Regions from separate parts of the Homo sapiens genome. Here region 1 is linked to region 2. The links are contacts of gene promoters, found by promoter capture Hi-C in human tissues and cell types (Jung and others, 2019). All regions are on one chromosome and are shown on one strand. Each heading gives the region's core, a stretch centred on a gene start or on the middle of the fragment in contact. The rest is flanking DNA. Distances are from core to core; before and after follow the strand shown. Region 1 overlaps GRIK4 (glutamate ionotropic receptor kainate type subunit 4). Region 2 holds the start of GRIK4 (glutamate ionotropic receptor kainate type subunit 4).

The links. The method cuts DNA at HindIII sites, captures the fragments that hold promoters and counts their contacts. A contact is called where the count stands out against the background at its distance.
Region 1: a fragment that was not itself captured here is called in contact with the fragment with the promoter of GRIK4 in region 2 in 1 of the 25 tissues and cell types used here (dorsolateral prefrontal cortex).

What each region holds. Positions count from the first base shown.
Region 1 is chr11:120,543,201-120,547,199 of GRCh38, forward strand. All of the region lies in intron 1 of GRIK4 (glutamate ionotropic receptor kainate type subunit 4), which reads left to right. Among named protein-coding and RNA genes, the nearest start is that of GRIK4, 33 kb to the left of the region's middle. The HindIII fragment of the contact is 8,132 bases long and covers 1-3,999 here.
Region 2 is chr11:120,509,974-120,513,816 of GRCh38, forward strand. It overlaps GRIK4 (glutamate ionotropic receptor kainate type subunit 4), which reads left to right and starts at 1,775. Exons shown (of 21, transcript NM_014619.5): 1 at 1,775-1,914. RefSeq lists silencers at 1,386-1,465, 1,646-1,845. The HindIII fragment of the contact is 7,551 bases long and covers 1-3,843 here.

The DNA.
Region 1 (3,999 bases), core at 1,212-3,711, 34 kb after region 2:
AAACCCTGTGACATGTATTTACCTGTATAATAAACCTGCACATGTACCCCTGAACCTAAAAGTTAAAACAACAAAAACAAAAACAAAAAAACTAGGCCTGGGTGTGGTGGCTCAAGCCTGTAATCCCAGCACTTTTCTGAGGCAGGTGGATCACCTGAGGGTCAGGAGTTCGAGACCAGCCTGACCAACATGGCGAAACCCTGTCTCTACTAAAAATACAAAAAAATTAGCCGGGGATGGTGGTGTGTGCCTGTAATCCAGCTACTCGGGAGGCTGAGGCAGGAGAATTACTTGAACCCGGGAGGCGGATGTTGCAGTGAGCTGAGATCACGCCACTGCACTCCAGCCTAGGTGACAGAGTGAGACTCCATCTCAAAAGAAAAGAGAATGTATGTTCCTCAAAAAATTAAAAATAGAACTACCATACAAGCCAGTAATCCCACTTCTGGGTATTTATCCAAAGGGATTGAAATCAGGATCTTGAAGAGATATCTACATTCCCATGTGCATTGCAGCACTAGTCACAATAGCCAAGAGAGTGTTCCTCTTGGAAGAATGGAATCCAGAATATGTGGTCCACACATACAGTGAATATTATTCAGCCTTAATAAAGAAGAAGATCCTACCTTTGCAAAAACGTGGATGAACCTGGAGGACAGTGTGCTAAGTGAAATAAGCCAGGTACAGAAAGACAAATATTGTATGATCTCACTTACATGTGGAATCTAAAATAGCTCACAGAAGCAGAGGGTAGAATGATGGTTGTCAGGGGCTGGTGGGGAGGGGAAATGAGTTGTTGGTCAGAGGGCACAAAGCTTCAGCTATGCAAGGCGAGTCAGTTCTGGCGAGCTGCGCTGCATAGTGCCCATAGCTAACAATACTGTGTTCTATACTTAGAATTTGCAGAGAGGATGGATCTGATAGTAAGCGTTCTTACCATAGACATATGAAAATAGTTATAAAGAGGGTGAGAGAAACTGTGGGAGCTGATGGATGTGTCTGTGGCCTTGGTGGTGATAGTAGTTTCACCAGTGTATACTTGTCCCCAAACTCATCAAGTTGTATACATTAAATATGTATGGTCTTTTACATGTCAATCATACCTTAACAAAGTGGTTAAATAATACTATTTTTATACTTTTTTTTTTGAGATGGAGTCTTGCTCTGTCACCCAGGCTAGAGTGCAGTGGCATGATCTTGGCTCACTGCATCCTCTGCCTCCAGGGTTCAAGCGATTCTCTAGTCTCAGCCTCCTGAGTAGCTGGGATTACAGGCATGTGCCACCACATCTGGCTAATTTTTCTACTTTTAGTAGAGCCGGGGTTTCACCATGTTGGCCAGGCTGGTCTTGAGCTCCTGACCTCAGGTGATCCACCTGCCTCGGCCTCCCAAAGTGCTGGGATTACAGGCTAAAGAGTACTATTTGTTTTCAACCTGGACATTTCAGCACAGCTGTTATTAGGAAGTTGTGTCCCTCCACCCCCTACCTTGTGATGTTTCCTAGGGTTGAGTTACCACGGGGACATGGAAAGGAGGTGTCTTGTGGGTCATCAGAGCTCTGGTCCTAATGTACATGTGAGAGGTTAAGGCTGGATAAGGAGGGTTAGAAAGAATCAACAGAGATTCTTCAGTGGATTCATTGAAGCCATATTTGTCCTTTTCCACTAAGGGACCATAAGATGAAACTGAAGACCTAGGGGCAAGGGGACCTGAGGCTTGTTGAGCACAGCCCGGACTCCCAGGGTGCGCTCAGTGTGGTCCACTGTCACAACAACCGTGTGCTGCAGGGTTCCCGCTTTCTCTAATTTGTGAATGGGGAAACTGAGGCAGGGAGCTTACGCAGCTGACTGAAGGCCTCACAGCTGGCCAGAGGCCAGCTGTGAACAAACCAGGGGACATACAGGCCTGGCCCGCGGGGTCACTGGCCGGTTTCCTGTGGCTCTCTGCAGGGTTCCCACTGTTCAGCCACAGCTTTGAGCCCTTTTGTGCATCTCTTACTACACGTCCTTATGTAGTCAAACCAGAAATGGAGCTCTTTCCCTCAAAACTGCCTTATCTCTAGTCGTTAAGGGTGTTCATTTGGCTGAAACTATATTAAGTGAATTTAATTGAAGGTTATTTTCCTAAGATACATTTTTTTCTTGTTATAAAGTGATATGTGCTCATTGAAGAGAGTTTAAAAAATACAGTGAGGCAAATGTAAGAGGGTGGAAATTGCCAACAATCCTACCATGTAGCCCACTATCAATAACAATAGTAACTGGCATGGAATGAGTAATTGCCGTATTGTAGTAAGCACTATTCGAGGTGTTTTGACGTACGATTATTATTAACCATTCTTTTGTGTATGAGGAAAACAGACTCAGGGACGTTAAGTAACTTGGCAGAGGTCACACAGCGAAGAAGTGATGAGATTTTAATATGCACCATTTGACTCTAGGGCCCAGGCTCTTAACTACCTCTGTCTTGTGTGAAACAACAGTGGCAATGGATTTTGAATGAAAGGGAGGAGAACTGTTGATTGAGTTTCACCTGCCCTGGAATCCAGAAATCTTGATTATAATGGTCAGGTAGGGAGCACCAGTTTTAGGGATCTTTGGATAACAACACCTAGACGTTCTTTAACTCAGGCTTGATAAAGACTGAGAAGGAGTTACTGAGAACTGCGGAGGCCTGTGCTGTGCACTGAGTGCTTTCCTGCATGTTTTCAGACAGAGCCAAGGGTGGCACCCAGGCTCCACCCTTCCTGCTCTGACCAGATGGCTTCACATCTCTCCTGACTTCTGCTTTGTGGGTTGGTGCCCCTCGGTGTGGCTGGGTACCCTCGGTTTCTCCCCTTCGTGTCTCTGTGGCCCATGACCAAAGAATCCGTGGTCTTTGTGGGTGGGTCAGGTGTTGGCCCTGAGGTACAGCCGTTCTCTGTAGGGCTGCATCCTCCAAGGGGGAACCCCTGTGTGGAGGAGACAGGAGATTTTAGCAGCAGGGACCCTCCTTGCAAACCAGCCCTTGCAGCGTTGGTGCTGCTGTTCCTGTTGAATTGGTTCGCCCCCAGTTGCTGTGGGTTTGCTCCTGCAGTCTCCCTTGCAGTCCTGGGTTAGTTCTCAGGACTGCACCTTGAGGGAGATGGGCCAAAATGAGATCTGGTCCGGAAAAGTGGTCAGGGGCATTTTTCAGTTGGGAAAGATTCTCTCTGGAATGGCAAAGGACTTCTCAAGGGACCGCGCCTGCCTGTGTCCTTCTAGGTGGTGGAGACTGCACCTGCTGGGCTAGGGCGACATGGTTTCTGTGCCTGCCCCTGCAACAGCCTGATTCTTTCTCCCTAGAGATCCACCTAGAGGAAGGGGGATGCAGTCCGCATGGGAGTCCAGCACTGTGAGAGGGCTGCTCATAGCATATCCCCATGGGAGTCTTGCCCCACAGAGTGTGTCCAAGGTGAAGGATGGAGTCTAGGGAACGTGCAGTATGTGGAGAGGACCTGGGACATGCTTCTGGCTCAGCTCCCTCATTAGCCTTGAGTTATTTAGTATGTCACTCCCGTTCCTGAGTCACACATGCTCCGCCCACCTCCTGAAGTCCCCTCCCACTGTGTGGCTACTAGGAGTAAGGATGGAATTTGTGGGGAACTTCAGGCCCAGAACTGGGCATGAAATGGAAATGCAAGATGATGATTCATAATTTTGCTAGAGAAACCAAATACGGCTTTGCTTCCTCTCTAATCCCAACAGGTTCTGGGGCTGAGCGCAGCTTAAGAACAGCAAGGTCGGGGGGTTGGCATTGCCTGACTGTCCAGCTTAAGCCTCGTGCATGCAGAGCTCCACGTACCTCCCCGGCACCCTGCCCCTTGGGCTCTGGCAGCGCTTCCTCCACATTCTCCTGTCTTGTGTGCCTCAGTTCCTTTGCGTGGACAGTCCCTTCGACTTGAAGTCCCCTTCCCTCTCTTCCCTCCACTCATCCTCAGGAGCCAGCTCAGTGGCCATTCCTTCCACAGTGCCTCTCCTG
Region 2 (3,843 bases), core at 525-3,024:
TTCCAAACACTTAATAAGCCTCTCTGGTCTCGCTGATCTTGCATTCTTCCCGTGAAAGGGGCCAGGGATCCATGCTTGGCATTTCAGAGTTTGCGCGGCTTGAGAGATCATCTAGTCTGCTTCCCTCACTTTTAGAGTTATGGGAACTGAAGTCCAGGGAAGTGAAATCGCTTGCTGGGATCACAGGGATGCCTCTCCCTCCTCCCAGCCCCGTACACTTTCTGCTAGGCTTATGCTGCTGTTCCGTCCATTTTGCACAAGAGAGGGGGTTCCAGAGTGGGGGAATAGAGTTGGAATTAGAAATTAGTTTTGTGTCACTGGCTTACAGGTGCTCTTAAACCTTAACAGGTTTAACATCCTCTGTAAAATGGGACTAGTGTCACCTCAACACCTACCTTGCAAAGTTGATTATTGGGAATCACACTTGTGTAAGCGGTATAGTCTTGGCAAACAGTAGGTGCTAAATAATGTCTGGCTGGAGGAATGGAGCCCTGTTCGCATATGGCATTCATCCAGCCAGTGTGTGGAGCTGGGGGAGGGATAGGCACGACTCCTGAAGCAGGAGGCCCAGTACGCGCCCAGGCTAGCCAGCCAGCCCTCCCCGGGGAATGCAACGTCCAGAACAGTCTATAGTCCCGATAGTATGCCTCATGCGTGAGACCTGACCAAGGACGTCTGTGAACAAACCCTTCACAGAGAGCTTAATGAGATTGTGGGAGTGCTGGTGGTTGGGTGTGGGGATACAGGCCATTGAAGGTGAGAGGGCCGGTGTGATCAGTTTGGTGGTCTGCCCAAGACAGAGACTCTGCGGGTTGGATAAGAGGGAGCTAATAGGTTTGAGGGGGTCACGTGTCCCTTGCCCTCCCTCCTATTCCCCCAGGACTCCCTCTTCACCCAGCCTCCTCCTAAGGGCAACTCTGTTGTATTAGGATGAACCACACGGTGTACTGAAATGAACCGCGCGTCAGAAAGCGGGGTTGCCTCCTGGGTCCTGCCACTTGCTCCCCGTGTGTTCTTGGCCTGGTCCCTTCACCTCTCCTAGCCTCAGGATCTTCATGCGTAACATGAGATCCTCCCAAGATGTTGGTATGTATACAACAGTGCTCTGGAATGACTCCATGCAAGCTGTTGCTCTTCAGTCTCCTGAACAAGGTGCTCTTGTCTCGTCCCATGAAACCTCCACCTCTCCATCTTCCGCACCACTGAGGCCGCAGTCTCTTCTAACGGGGCACGCTCGTCCCCCGCGCTGTTTCCCGAATGCCACCAGGGGGCGCCCCTTGCTCGCTGAAGCCGCCGGGCTAATAACTCCTCGGGGCCGGGGCGGGCTGCCCCTTTGCGCAGGGCGGTGGAGTGTGCGGGCTGCGCCGGGTTCCCCACCTGAGGTCCGTACCTCGCAGAGCCCGCTTGGCCGCGCGCCCCTAGCCTCTGCCGGGCGCCGCTCCCCAGCCGGGCGCCTCTCGCTCGGCCCCGGGCCCCCGGGCAGCCGCAAGTTTGCCCCCGGCCGCGCGGACCCGCGCCCGCCCTGCCCGCAGCAGCCCCCGCCGTTCCCGCCGCCCCCGCCGCCCCCGCGCCTGGGCTCCCGGGCGACGCTCCGAGGGGCGCTGGGGGGCGCGTGCAGCTGCCCGCGGGGCTCCGGCCCGGCCCCGAAGGGGCGCCCCCCCGGCCGGCCGTGCGCGGGGCCGCAGCAGTTCCCCAGCTGCCCGCCGGGCGGCGCCCCGCGCCTCGCTGCGCTCCTCCCGCGCTCCCCGCGCCGGGCTCGCTCGCAGCCGGACACAGACTGCCTTCAGCTGCGGGCGGATCGGGCTGGAGCCGCCACGGCTGCTGCGGAAGAGGAAAAACGGCCAACAGCAGCCCCGCGGCCGGCCCGGCAGCGCCCGGCCCCCGGCTCAGCCCCCGGAGTGCGGAGCCGACCAGGTAAGGGCAGCGGCCCCCCGCGGCGCCCCCGGCCCGCTCCCTGCGCTGCCCCCGCGCCCCCGAGTCCCCTCCGCGCTGGCCCTTCCCGCACCCCGACTTCTGACGTCTCCGCCGCTCCTGCCCTCGGGGGCCGCGGCCCCGCACCCCTGCCCCGGCCCCCGCCCCCGCGCCCTCCTCCCCGCTCCCGCCTCCCGCCAGCCCGGTCCCTGGCACTTCGGTCCCTGCGTCTCCAGATTCGCCGCCGAACCCCCCACCGCTCTGCTCCCGTAGTTCCTCCAGTCTTCACCCCGGTCCGTCTCCCTCCCTCCGCATCCCTTCCCCGGGCTCGCGGTCCTCCCGCTCTGGTCCTCCCCCTCCCCGTGCAACTCCCAGCCCTGCCTCTGTCCCCTGCAGGGATGACAGCCCCTTCCCAGCCTGGCGCGTCTCCCCTACACCTCGTCACCCTCCGCTTCTCCCAGCGCCTCTGTTCCCCGGCTGCAGCCCCCCATCCCGGCTCAGCCTGGCATCCCACCAAGCCCCCTCCCCCTTTCCTCACTGCCATCTGCCTCGACTGCCCCCTGCCCCTGCACTGGACTCGGGCCACCACCACACCCCCCCACCCTGCACACCGCCTTGCTTGGGGGAACCAGCGTCCTATCAGAAATGATCCTCTTTCCCGGGGAGAATGGGGCTCCCACCCATCCCACCCTAGTTCATCCGAGTGGGAAGTGAGGGAGAAACTCTAGAGACCTGCAATGGGCGCGTGATGGGGGAGGGGGCTGGGGCGGAGGGGGAGGGGAGCTGATTTAGATTCTCTTCAGTGAGGACTGGCAGAGCTGTGCGCTCCGACCTGGCTGGGGTGGAGGGCGTGCAGGCGACAGCTGGGACAGGGGGTTCAAGGCACTGAGAGCACCTGTGTCTCTTTCCCTGGCTCCCTTGAGCTGAGCAAAGTGAGGGGAGGAGTTGGAGCCTGGGGAGAGTTGGCTGAGGGCCTTGGGGTGGTGGAGGAGGCGGCCGAGGGGGCTGGGCCCCGGGCGCCTCTGGCCCGTCTGCCTGGCAGTGGTGGGGCAATGCGGGCCGAGCCACTCCCGGGCTGGACCTTGGGCTGCGTGGCTCTTGGCATCTGTACTTGATGCTGCCATCTTCCTCTTGGTGCTGTTGTCTGGTGATGCCACGCGGTGCCACCTCCCTGCCTCCCTCCAGTGGCTCTCCTGGGCATGTCTCCCAAGGGTCTGGGTTGTCTGGGAAGAGGAGGGGAGCTCTGAGCACAGCTGGGCCCTTTTGCCAGGCAGTGGGCAGCTGTCAAGACCAGGCCAAGAGGTCTGAGGGCTGGTCAGGAGGACTGAGCCCTGCCAGGAACAAAGAACTACCTTCACTTTCACTCCCTATGGGTCACCTGGTTGGTAGTGACACTTCTAGGAGCACCGGGAAACTGCGGGCGTGGTATCTCCGGGGAGAGAGGCCGCCTGGGTTGGTAGTGGGCATCTGAGAGACAAATCCGGTCCTGCCTGACTCCCTGACTGTCTGTGCTCGCGTGGTCAGGGGCGAGGGGCTTGTCGAGGTCCACTGTGTTCCGGTCCCACCAGGGATGGCAGCCCCTGGAATTCCACTGGGCGTCATCATGCTGGCTTTATTTGCTGAAGCTGCAGCTCAGGCTTCATCATTAATCAGGTTTATTATTTTTCTCACTGGCCAGATGTGTTCCTCAAGGTCACGACCCTTCGGAGAGTTAATCTAATATGCACACATTACAGTGTCTGGGTTTGTTTAATTTTCCATATTTTGTTCATTCCTTGTGGCCCGGGCTTGCCCACCAGCCTCCCGCCTGCCTCACCAGCTCCACCCCTCTGTCCTCCTCTGGACCTGCCACCTGAAACCCAGAGGCAGCACTGGTCCCTCCGGGTGGGGAAGAGGTGGATGCTCGGGAGGGGAGGTTGAGAGGGGATCTTG